Linked DNA regions of Homo sapiens: all the other regions are linked to region 3. The links are contacts of gene promoters, found by promoter capture Hi-C in human tissues and cell types (Jung and others, 2019). All regions are on one chromosome and are shown on one strand. Each heading gives the region's core, a stretch centred on a gene start or on the middle of the fragment in contact. The rest is flanking DNA. Distances are from core to core; before and after follow the strand shown. Region 1 has its middle 39 kb from the start of LTBP4. Region 2 has its middle 30 kb from the start of NUMBL. Region 3 holds the start of BLVRB (biliverdin reductase B). Region 4 has its middle 15 kb from the start of AKT2.

Region 1 (2,794 bases), core at 112-2,611, 170 kb after region 3:
CCTGCCTCAAAAAAAAAAAAAAAAAAAAAAGCATGTTAAAATTTCAAAGATTGCTACAAAAAGAAAGAAATGGTGCATAGATTCCAAACTAGTAGAGGGAAAACAAAGAATAAGAAAACATAAGACAAAACTAAACAAAAAATGCAGCCAATTCAAAGAAGCTTAAATGAGCATGAAAAAATAAATAAACGTAGAAAAATGAGGACACTAGAATCACAAAGCAAAATGGTAGAAGTAAATAAAATACATCATTAATCACATACACAAAAAATGTATTCAGGGCCAGGTATGGTGGCTCACACCTGTAATCCCAGCACTTTGTGAGGCTGGGGCAGACGGATCACTTGAGGCAACAAGTTTGAGACTAGCCTGGCCAACATGGTGAAACCCCATCTCTACCAAAAATACAAAAAAAAAAAAAAAAAAAAAGAAGAAGAAGTTATCCAGGCATTGTGGTGCACGCCTGTAATCCCAGCTACTTGGGAGGCTGAGGTAGGAGAATTGCTTGAATCCAGGAAGTGGAGGTTGCAGTGAGCTCAGATTGCACCACTGCACTCCAGCCTGGGTGACAGAGTGAGACTCCCTCTCAAAAACAAACAAAGAAAAAATGTATTCAGAGGCCAAATACTTCTTACCACCTCCATAGCTGCCACCCATATCTTACCCTCCTCCTAGGGTTTGGAGTTCCTACTCCTGGCCCCACAATCTCTCCCCGTCATGCAGATAGAGGGACTCTGGGAATAACCAAGTCAACTCAACTCCCTCTGCTGCTCAAAACTTTCCTGTGGCTCCATCTCACTCAAAGATTATTTTGCTCATTTTTTTTTTGTTTTTTTTTGAGACAGGGTCTCACTCTGTTGCCCAGGCTGGAGTGCAGTGGTGCAAGTCATGACTCACTGCAGCCTAGACTTCCTCGGCTCAAGCCATCCTCCAGGCCTCCAGGGCTACCACAACCCAGCCAATTTTTTGATAGAGACGAGGCCTCCCTTATTGCCCAAGCTGGTCTTGAACTTATGGGCTCAACTTATCTACCCACCTCGGCCTCCCAAAATGCTGGGATTCCAGGCCTGAGCCACTGTGTTCCGCCAATCTCATTCAAAGTAAGAGCCAAAGTCCTCACTGTGGTCCAGCAGACTCTGCACCGTCTGCTTCTTGTTCCCTCTCTGACCTCACCTCCCCTCCACCCCCCACACGCTCCTCTGCAGCAACACGGATCTCCTTGTTGTTTCTCTAAGATCCAGACATGTTCCCATCCCACCCCAGGACCTTGGCACTGGCTGTTCCCTCTGCCTAGGGGACTCTTTCCACTAGGTTCAGTTTCTCTTTTTTTTTTTTTTTGAGACGGAGTTTTTTCACTCTTGTTGCCCAGACTGGAGTGCAGTGGCACGATCTCGGCTCACAGCAAGCTCCTCCTCTCAGGTTCAGGCAATTCTCCTGCCTCAGCCTCCCGAGTAGCTGGGACTACAGGCACCCGCCACCACCCCCAGCTAATTTTTGTATTATTAGTAGAGACGGGGTTTCACCATGTGGCCAGGCTGGTCTCGAACTGCTGATCTCAAGTGATCCATCTACCTCAGTCTCCCAAAGTGCTGGGATTACAGGTGTGAGCCACCGCGCCTGGCCCCCTTGGCTCAGTCCCTCACCACCAGCAGAAGAATGGATAAACTGATCCCACAGTGGCCTGCAATGTGTGTGTGCTGCAATGAGAATAACCTGTAACTGCACACGACAACCAGGATGAATTTTTTTCACGGTGCTGACTGAAAAAAGCCAGATGCTAAAAAGAACATATTTTCAGATTGCATTTACATGAATTCAAAACAGGCACAACCAATCTATGCTGTCAGAAGTGAGGGTGATAATGACCTTGGAGGGAGGGCAGGTGATAAGGGAGCGCCGAGGGGGCTTCTGGGGGGCTGGAGATATTGCTTCTTGGGCTGGTGGCTGGTGACACAGGTGTGTTCAATCGGTGATAATTCCTCCAGCGGTTACACTTACGGTTTGTACTTTCCTGAATATGGGTCTACTTCAAGAAACCACTGCTGAAAACGAGGAGCTGCACCCACCACCCAGTGTCCCCTCCATCCAGTTTAAGCAACAGGACATTCTCAGCCCCCCGGGGTCCCTCCCTCCCAATGCAATGTGCTTTTATGTCTTCAAGGGGCCTGGCCACCACCTTGGTTGCTTCCCCCAGCTTGCTATGCATGTCACCCCACGCATGTTCCAGGCAGCTCCACAGAGGTCCCCAGAGAGAAGGCAGGCTGTGGGTGGGAGGAAGGGCAGGGGTGGGGGACGTGGCTTCCCAGCGGAGCCCGGGCAGGGGGAGGAAACATTTCTGCAACACCCCACACCAAGTCCTGACTTCGGGGGGGCTTTGCAGGGTGAATTCTAAGTGCCCAGGGCCCCATGTGAAGGGGTCAACTGTGTCTCACTCTGTGTCTGTCTCTCTGTCTGTCTCTCTTCCTGTTTCCTCCCTCCCTCCCAGTCTCTCTCTCCTCAAGAAGAAAAAAACTCACAACTATTTACATAACAATTTTATATCAGACTGTAACCCAAAAACCCAAGTTCCAACTTCGAATTTTTCAATAAACTTTGAATAAATAGTAGTGCTATTTTTCTTTCTTTTTTTTTTTAGTACTGTAATGTTTACTTTTAAATTTAATTTTTACTGGCAGACTTTACGTATATGAGGTTCAAGAAAAGAAAATCTCCACTGTTTACATTTCTTTTCTGACTATTAATATTGTTCATTTCATTTCCTGATTATTACTGGCAATAATTTTGTCCTATGGGG
Region 2 (2,707 bases), core at 178-2,677, 190 kb after region 3:
CAGAAGGAGCCAAATTGGGACTGCCAAGTGGATGCCTAATAATTTCCCATCAAAACTTGTAAAATTGCTCGTTTGATGAGGAGAATGAGCAGAAGCGTAGACATGCTGGAGAAGAACTCTCTGGTGAAGCTTCCCAGGCTTATTTCTACTAAAGCTTCGGCTAACTTTCTCAAAACACTCTCATAATAAGCAGATCTTATTATTCTTTGACCCTACAGAAAGTCAACCAGCAAAATGCCTTGAGCATCCCCAAAAACTGTTGCTATGACCTTTGCTCTTGACCAGTGTGCTTCTGCCTTGACTGGATCACTTCCCCGCTCTTGGCAATCATTCTCTGATTACGATTTGTCTTTAGGATTGCACCCGTGAAACCATGTATCATTTCCCGTTACAATCCTTCAAGGAAATGCATTAGGATCTCGATCTCACTTGTTTAGCATGTCCATGGAAAGCTCTGCTCTTCTCTGCAGCTGATCTGGGTGCGACCGTTCTGGCACCCATCGAGTGGAAAGTTTGTTTAGCTTTAATTTCAGTCAGAATTGTGTAAGCTGAGGCCGGGTGAGGTGGCTCAAGCCTGTAATCCCAGCAGTTCGGGAGAATGAGGCAGGAGGATCACTTGTGTCCAGGAGTTCAAGACCAGCCTGGGAAACCTAATGAGACCCCCATCTCTACAAAAAATACGAAAATTTAGTGTCAGGCCTCTGAGCCCAAGCTAAGCCATCATATCGCCTGTGACCTGCACGTATACATCCAGGTGGCCTGAAGCAACTGAAGAGCCACAAAAGAAGTGAAAATAGCCTTAACTGATGACATTCCACCATTGTGATTTGTTTCTGCCCCACCCTAATGATCAATGTACTTTGTAATCTCCCCCACCCTTAAGAAGTTTCTTTGTAATTCTTCCCATCCTTGAGAATGAACTTTGTGAGATCCGCCCCCTGCCCGCAAAACATTGCTCCAAACTCCACCGCCTATCCCAAAACCTATAAGAATTAATCATAATCCCACCACCCTTTGCTGACTCTCTTTTTGGACTCAGCCTGCCTGCACCCAGGTGAAATAAACAGCCTTGTTGCTCACACAAAGCCTGTTTGGTGGTCTCTTCACAGGGACGCGTGTGACACTTAGCTGAACGTGCTGGCACGCACCTGTAGTTCCAACTACTTCGGAGGCTGAGGTGGAAGGATCGCTTGAGCCCAGGAGGTTGAGGCTGCAGTGAGCCACAATCTCACCACTGTACTCAGCCTGGGCGACAGTATGAGAACCCTGTCTCAAAAAAAAAAAAAAAAAAAAAGAAAAAAGAATTGTGTAAGCTGTACCAATTGAGATGTCTATGGTGTTGGCTATTGTTTCTGCTGTTAACTGTAAGTCCTCTTTAATTAAGGCATAAACAAATTTAATTTTTTTCTGCAAAAATTGATGTGGATGGTATGCCACGGTGGGCTTCATCTTCAGCATGACCCAGGCTGGAGTGCAGTGGCGCAATCACGGCTCACTGCAACCTCTACCTCCCAGACTCAAGTGATCCTCCCACCTCAGCCTCCTGAGTAGCTGGAACTACAAGTGTGCACCACCACACCCAGCTAATTTATGTATTTTTTGTACGGATGGGGTTTCACCATGTTACCCAGGCTGGTCTCGAATTCCTGAGCTCCAATGATCCGCTGGCCTCAGCCTCCCAAAGTATTGGGATTACAGGCGTGAACCACCACGCCCGAACTTGTCCCTTCTTAAAACGAGTTATCCATTTGTAAATGGCTGATTTCTCTGGGGCACTGTCAAGTTTTTGGAAAACATCAATGATTTCATCATTCTTCCACCCAAGCTTCACCATCAATTTGATGCTTGTTCTTGCTTCAATTTTAGAATTCGTGTTGCTCTGATAGGGGCTCTTTTCAATCTGATGTTTTATTTTAGTGTCTCAAACTAGGTCCTGTTCAGACAAGTTATAACAAGTTAGTATGAATTTATTTTGGTGCAAAAAAAAAAAATTGAACTCCATGCATAGTTTTTTCATAATACACATTTTCCATGAATTTTTGGAAGACCCTTCTTTTTCTCTCTTTTTTTTTTTTTTTTTTTTTTCTGTAGAGATGGTCTTGTTCTGTCACCCAGGCTGGAGTGCAGTGGCACAATCATGGCTCACTGCAGCCTCGACCTCCTGGGCTCAAGCAATCCTCCCACCTCAGCTTCCTGTTACTGGGACTATAGGTGTGCACCACCACACCTTGATAATTAAAAAAAAAAATTTTTTTGTAGAGATCGGGGTGGGGGGGGGGGTCTCACTATATTTTCCAGGCTGGTCTTGAACTCCTGGCCTCAAGTGACCCTCCCCAATCAGCCTCCCAAAGTGCTGGGATTACAGGCACAAGCCACAGTGCCTGGCCAATAAATGTTTTTTGAATGAATGAAGAAATTAGTGCATGGACATATTTTCCCATCAGCTATTACAATAACCAGACTCTGAGTTCCCTGAAGGCAGGGCCTGTGAGTTTCATTGTGTACCCTCAGCCCTCAATAGCTGATAAAAATAAATATTCAGAAAATGCTTGTAAAATGAAGAAGAGAATATGTATGGGACAGAAAGTAGACCAGTGGTTGCCTGGGGCTGGGACAGGGAATAGGGAGCGACTGCAAATGGGCAGAAGGGATCTTTTCAGAGTGATGGAAATGTTCTTGAATTGGCTGTGATGGCTGCAGAACTGTA
Region 3 (2,700 bases), core at 7-2,506:
ACCCTCTGAGTGCAGTCCCAGCTATGACCAGCAGGGTGGGCGAGTGGAATTCGGTGGAATTAGTGGATTTCCAGGTGACTCAGCGCCTCTCAACTTCTCTCTCTTACTTCCTTCTCCATTACTCCCGAATAAATGCTTATCAGCAAACTGGTTTTTACTGAGAGGCCCACAGCTCCCCATTCTCCACAAGTCAAGATCCTCACGTGGTCTCCCTGGGGAAGGGGAGAGTTATGGACCTAGAGAAGAACTTTCAGAGTCCCTCCAAGGGAGACAGCAGAGTGGGGTCCTGTTGGCCTCCACCCTTTTGGGGCACGCAGATAGTCAATATCTTCAGCGTCCCCAAGGCCTGCAAGGGTGGGGCCCCATATCTGGAAGTCCCAGGCCCAGCTGGGAGTTGGTCAAGTCTGGGCTGTGGGGGCAGGGAGTGCTGGGGGATGGTTATCCCCTTTTCTGCCCTCTCTCCTGGGGCAACTCCAAATTTTCAGCCCTCATTGACTTTCCCAGGACTGCTGTCCCCAAGTCTTCACTCATGTCTCTCTGTGACTCCTTCCCATTAGGTACTCGCAGCAACCTGACCCCCCAACTTTTTCAGTTTCCAGCCTGGGGACTTGTGGTGGTTAAGAGCATGAGCTGAGTTCAAATCCCAGTCCTGTCAGTTAACAGCTGTGTGATATTGGGCAAGTCACTCTCTGGGTCTCAGTTTTCTCATCTGTCAAGTAGGGTGATACTAGTTCCCACCCCATTTTGAAAGCTCTCATGTGAAGAGACGACAGAGCAAGCTTGGCTTAGTAAATCCTCTCTGGGAGTGCGAACAACCACCACCACAACCACAATAATGACAACCGCATTGCATAAGAGCCCTGGACTTACACACGACTGTGCCAGTGGAGTCCTCCCGGGGCTCCCGGGGCCAATTCCTCTCTGGCTTGGACTCACATAAACTTGGATCTCACATCTTTCCCCATTTCTGCCCCCGTGGCCACTTGCTTTGGCCCCTGAGTCCTCATACACCTGGCTGGGGCGCTCATGGCCCCAATCAGCCTCGGCCCGACCCCATGGTGCCCCTTCCTAAAGTTCTGCCCGTCTGTCCCGTGACATGCCCCGCCCGCCCCGGCTCATGCCTGCTTGCACCGCCTGCGCCAGGGTGGTGAGCCCGGTCTGGCCAGTGGCGCCGAAGATCGCGATCTTCTTGACGGCCATCGTACGGGATCGTGGGGGTGCAAGGCCTCAGAGTCTCGGCACGCGCGGGAACCCACTGGCTGCTGGGCGGTGCTCTCTGCCCTACTCAAGCCAGGAACAACGGGGCGGAGCTGGCTCGAAGGGCCACGCCTCAGACTCTCCGCCCGCGGCTCAGGTCAAGGGGCGGGGCCTAACGCGGATGGGCGGGGCAGGCGTCAGCTTGCATTCGCTCACCGTCCAGCACCGCCCTCTCTGCGCGCCACTTAGACTGGAAGGCGGGGCCACAGAAGGCCACGCCTCCACATAGCAACAAATAGAGTGGACGGAGCCGAGATAACTTGTCACTCAGCGCCCTGCCTCCGCGCTCCACCTCCCGGAGAGGGGCGGGGCCAGGCGAGCCTCACCCACGGCCTCTCGTAGCTCACGCCCCCTCTCCCGGAGCCTGGAGCGGATCTGGGGCGCACTCTAAGCCCCAGGGCCTCCCAGAACCAGCAAGGGGAGAAAGTTAGGAGGACAGAGTGTGTGTGTGCACTTGGATGTAAGACACTGTGTCACGGCGTACCTATGCACTTATATGACCCTGTGTGACTCAGTGACCCGGAGGGCAAGCAGGACTGTGGGTGACACCTTGTGTCATCCTCTGAGTGTGATCCCGTGTTACAGTGTGACTACACGTGCGTGACACCACGTGTGGCAGGCATTGATTCTGTTCTTTTGTGACCTTGTGGTGACACCGTGGGTGACACTGCGTCAGCCTGTACGATAGGGTGTGGGACGTGTGAGGTGTGCTACATGGAAGCGTGAGACTAATTAGACTGTGACAGTGTGTGACACCACATGTCTCGTGTAAGGATGTGTGACACCGGGACCCCATTCGAGTGTGTGGCTGTGGGTGTCTGTGTTGAGCTGCTCATTGTGACCCCCTGTGACTATGATGTGTGAGGTGCGGCGGTGCAGCATGTGCGGGGCGACTGCTATGAAGGTTCGAGTGTGTAGAGTGTGTGACACTGTGGCTGTGAAGCTGTGCGTGATGTGTGGGCCTATGACACTGTTTGTGACTGCCGGGGAGTGTGCGGCTGTGTGTGACAGGTGCATTTGTGTGTGACGCCGCGTGGGCGGTGGTTACCCTATTGGATTTGTGTGGTGGTGGGTGACACCGTTCCAGTGTGGACGCCGCGTGTGACGGCGTGAGGGTGTGACCCCGTGAGACCCCACAGGAGGGAGTGACGGCGCGCAAGCGCGTGGATGCGGGGGTGAGTTTGTGCGCCGAGGCCCCCGCGAGTATGGCAGCGTGGCGAGCGTGACCCCGTGGGAGTGTGCAGCGCGTGACGCCGCCGTGCCCTCGCGAGTGCAGCCGTGCACCCCACGCCGCGGCCGGGTGTGACTGCGCGTGGGCCTCGGGCGGCGGGGCGCGGGGACCGCGGGCGGGAGGGGGTCCCGGGGGCGCGCTGAGCGCGGCGGCGGCGCGAGAGAGGGAGGCGCGGCGGCGCATGCGGATCTGGCTGAGCCGCGGGCCGGCGG
Region 4 (2,700 bases), core at 52-2,551, 170 kb before region 3:
TCTTAAAAATGAGCCCTAATATCAAGGGTACATTGATGCAAAACTAGAATTTGGCATTATCTTTTAAAATGCAAGATTTTCTTGTAGTATTGATAAAAAAGAGTGAAAGATTTTCTTTTTCACCTTTTAAGTAATCTGCCTTAAAAAATTATGTCTTATCAAAATAATTTTCTCTTTCATGTTATCTTTTATCAGGCCTTCAATTACTTTCCAAGAAAATAAAATCCTATTAAGAGAGCTAATATATATATTTTTACAACTATATAACTTTATTTGCCTTCAAAGCCTTTTAATAATTACCCTGGTGATTATGAAATGAATATTAATAAATATTAAATGCTCATTAAATACTTAAATCATAAAATATTAAATGATTATAAAATGAACAGTTGATTAAATAGGATCCCAGATCACTATATAATTCAATAATCACTCTGGTAACCAGACTAATTATTAGTGACCTAAATTAATAGTTACCTGAGATCCTATTAATCAAATTTTTCCTTTTTTCTTTTCTTAATTTCAAAAAATATGGAAGGCCTCATGAATTTGTGAGTTATCCTTGCACAGGGGCCATGCTAATCTTCTCTGCATCATTCCAACTTTAGTATATGTGCTGCCAAAGCAAGCACTCATCAAGTGTTTTAAATCTTTTTTTACATTTTTGACAAACTTCCTAAAATCAAATTCTAAATTCAGTCTTTTGACCTTGAATTAACTTTGGAATTTGCCAGTTGAGCCCCTGGGAAAGCTCAAAAGATGTGTTTCTCACCTCGAAAAAGAGAGACATTAGCCAGGCACGGTGGCTCACGTCTGTAATCCCAGTACTTTGGGAGGCCGAGGCAGGTGGATCACCTGAAGTCAGGAGTTTAAGACCAGCCTGGCCGACATGGCGAAACCCTGTCTCTACTAAAAATACAAAAAAAATTAGTCAGGCGTGGTGACGGGCACCTATAATCCCAGCTACTCGGGAGGCTGAGGCAGGAGAATCGCTTGAACCCAGGGGGCGGAGGTTGCAGAGAGCCGAGATCGCACCATTGCACTCCAGCCTGGGTAACAGAGCGAAACTCCATCTGAAAAAAGAGAGATATTAGACTAATTAGGCTTATTTGAAATGTTAAATTAAATGGGAAACATTGTCAAATAATAAATGATGCTAAACGTTTATATTTATGAACCCAGGGTAGGAGGTGATGAGGGTGATAAAAAACATTTTTTTAAATAAGTTATATGGCCGGGTGCAATGGCTCGTGCTTGTAATCCCAGCACTTTGGGAGGCCAGGGCAGGTGGATCACGAGGTCAGGAGTTCAAGACCAGCCTAGCCAACACAATGAAACCCCGTCTCTACTAAAAATACAAAAATTAGCTGGGTGTGGTGGCAGGCACCTGTAATCCCAGCTACTTGGGAGGGTGAGGCAGGAGAATTGCTTGAACCCAGGAGGCGGAGGTTGCAGTGAGCCAAGATCGCACCACTGCATTCCAGCCTGGGCGACACAGCTAGACACCATCTCAAAAAAAAAAAAGTTATATTTCTGGATATGTTACTGATATGAATGTTCTAAAAATTATGAGATTCCTAGAAATCTAATGTTATAAGTCATAATTTTGTTACTATGTTAACATGATATATGCCACAGAAATAACCAGGTTTCCTTGTCAATTGCTGGTTATAATGAACTCTCATCAGATTTTTTAACCATGGCCATTCTGTCTTGCTCATCAATAGTGTTTTGGTTCTTCTCTAAAAGCATTTGCAATCAGCTATTGCCCCAAATTGCTTCTTCAAGATTCATGGAAATGACTCTGACAAGTAGTCTGGAATAGAAGGTCCTAATAAACTTATGATTATAACATTGGACTGGGTAAGAATTTCCAAAACTCTAGTGGAAAAACTGGACTCAGAAAACTGCTGACTCGACTAGGTGTGGTGGCTCATGCCTGTAATACTAGCACTTTGAGAGGCCCAGGCAGGCGGTTCATTTAAGGCCAGAAGCTCGAGACCAGCCTGGCCAACATAGAGAATCCCGATCTCTACTAAAAATACAAACAAAACAAAAAAATTAGTTGAGTGTGGTGGTGCACACCTGTAATCCCAGCTACTCCAGAGGCTGAGGCACGAGAATCGCTTGAGCCCGGGAGGTGGAGGTTACACTGAACCGAGGCACTCCAGCCTGGGTAACAGAGCGAGACTCTGTCTCAGAAAATAAAAAGAAAAAGAAACCCTGCTAACAACATCAGGAAGAATAAGAATTACATGGGACTGAGCTGACAGATTATAATTTTTTTTTAATACCTACAGTATTATAGTGCCATAGGCATAGTTTGATGGCAAGTCCCTGGCTTCATAACCTTGAGAGGCTTTTATTTATTTATTTATTTATTTATTTATTTATTTATTTATTCTTGAGACAGAGTCTCGCTCTGTCGCCCAGGCTGGAGTGCAGTGGCATGATCTTGGCTCACTGCAACCTCCGCCTCCCAGGTTCAAGAGATTCTTCCTGCCTCAGCCTCCCGAGTAGCTGGGATTACAGGAACCCACCACCATGCCCAGCTAATTTTTGTATTTTTGGTAGAGACGAGGTTTCGCCATGTTGGTCAGGCTGGTCTCAAACTCCTGACCTCGTGATCCACCTGCCTCAGCCTCCCAAAGTGCTGGGATTGCAGGTGCGAGCCACCGCGCCTGGCCTGAGAAGCTTTGC

The links. The method cuts DNA at HindIII sites, captures the fragments that hold promoters and counts their contacts. A contact is called where the count stands out against the background at its distance.
Region 1: a contact is called between a fragment that was not itself captured here and the fragment with the promoter of BLVRB in region 3, in 1 of the 25 tissues and cell types used here (hippocampus).
Region 2: a contact is called between a fragment that was not itself captured here and the fragment with the promoter of BLVRB in region 3, in 1 of the 25 tissues and cell types used here (lymphoblastoid cells).
Region 4: a fragment that was not itself captured here is called in contact with the fragment with the promoter of BLVRB in region 3 in 2 of the 25 tissues and cell types used here (aorta and liver).

Annotation. Positions count from the first base shown.
Region 1 is chr19:40,638,608-40,641,401 of GRCh38, forward strand. No RefSeq gene overlaps it. Among named protein-coding and RNA genes, the nearest start is that of LTBP4, 39 kb to the left of the region's middle. The HindIII fragment of the contact is 3,860 bases long and covers 1-2,794 here.
Region 2 is chr19:40,659,282-40,661,988 of GRCh38, forward strand. No RefSeq gene overlaps it. Among named protein-coding and RNA genes, the nearest start is that of NUMBL, 30 kb to the right of the region's middle. The HindIII fragment of the contact is 4,666 bases long and covers 1-2,707 here.
Region 3 is chr19:40,464,489-40,467,188 of GRCh38, forward strand. BLVRB (biliverdin reductase B) reads right to left here and starts at 1,257. Exons shown (of 5, transcript NM_000713.3): 1 at 1,122-1,257. The coding sequence starts at 1,200. It overlaps SPTBN4 (spectrin beta, non-erythrocytic 4), which reads left to right and starts at 2,513. Exons shown (of 36, transcript NM_020971.3): 1 at 2,513-2,700. RefSeq lists an enhancer at 331-450 and a silencer at 1,472-1,671. The HindIII fragment of the contact is 35,109 bases long and covers 1-2,700 here.
Region 4 is chr19:40,298,953-40,301,652 of GRCh38, forward strand. It overlaps a transcript of C19orf47 not described here and the pseudogene RNU6-945P. Among named protein-coding and RNA genes, the nearest start is that of AKT2, 15 kb to the left of the region's middle. The HindIII fragment of the contact is 5,785 bases long and covers 1-2,700 here.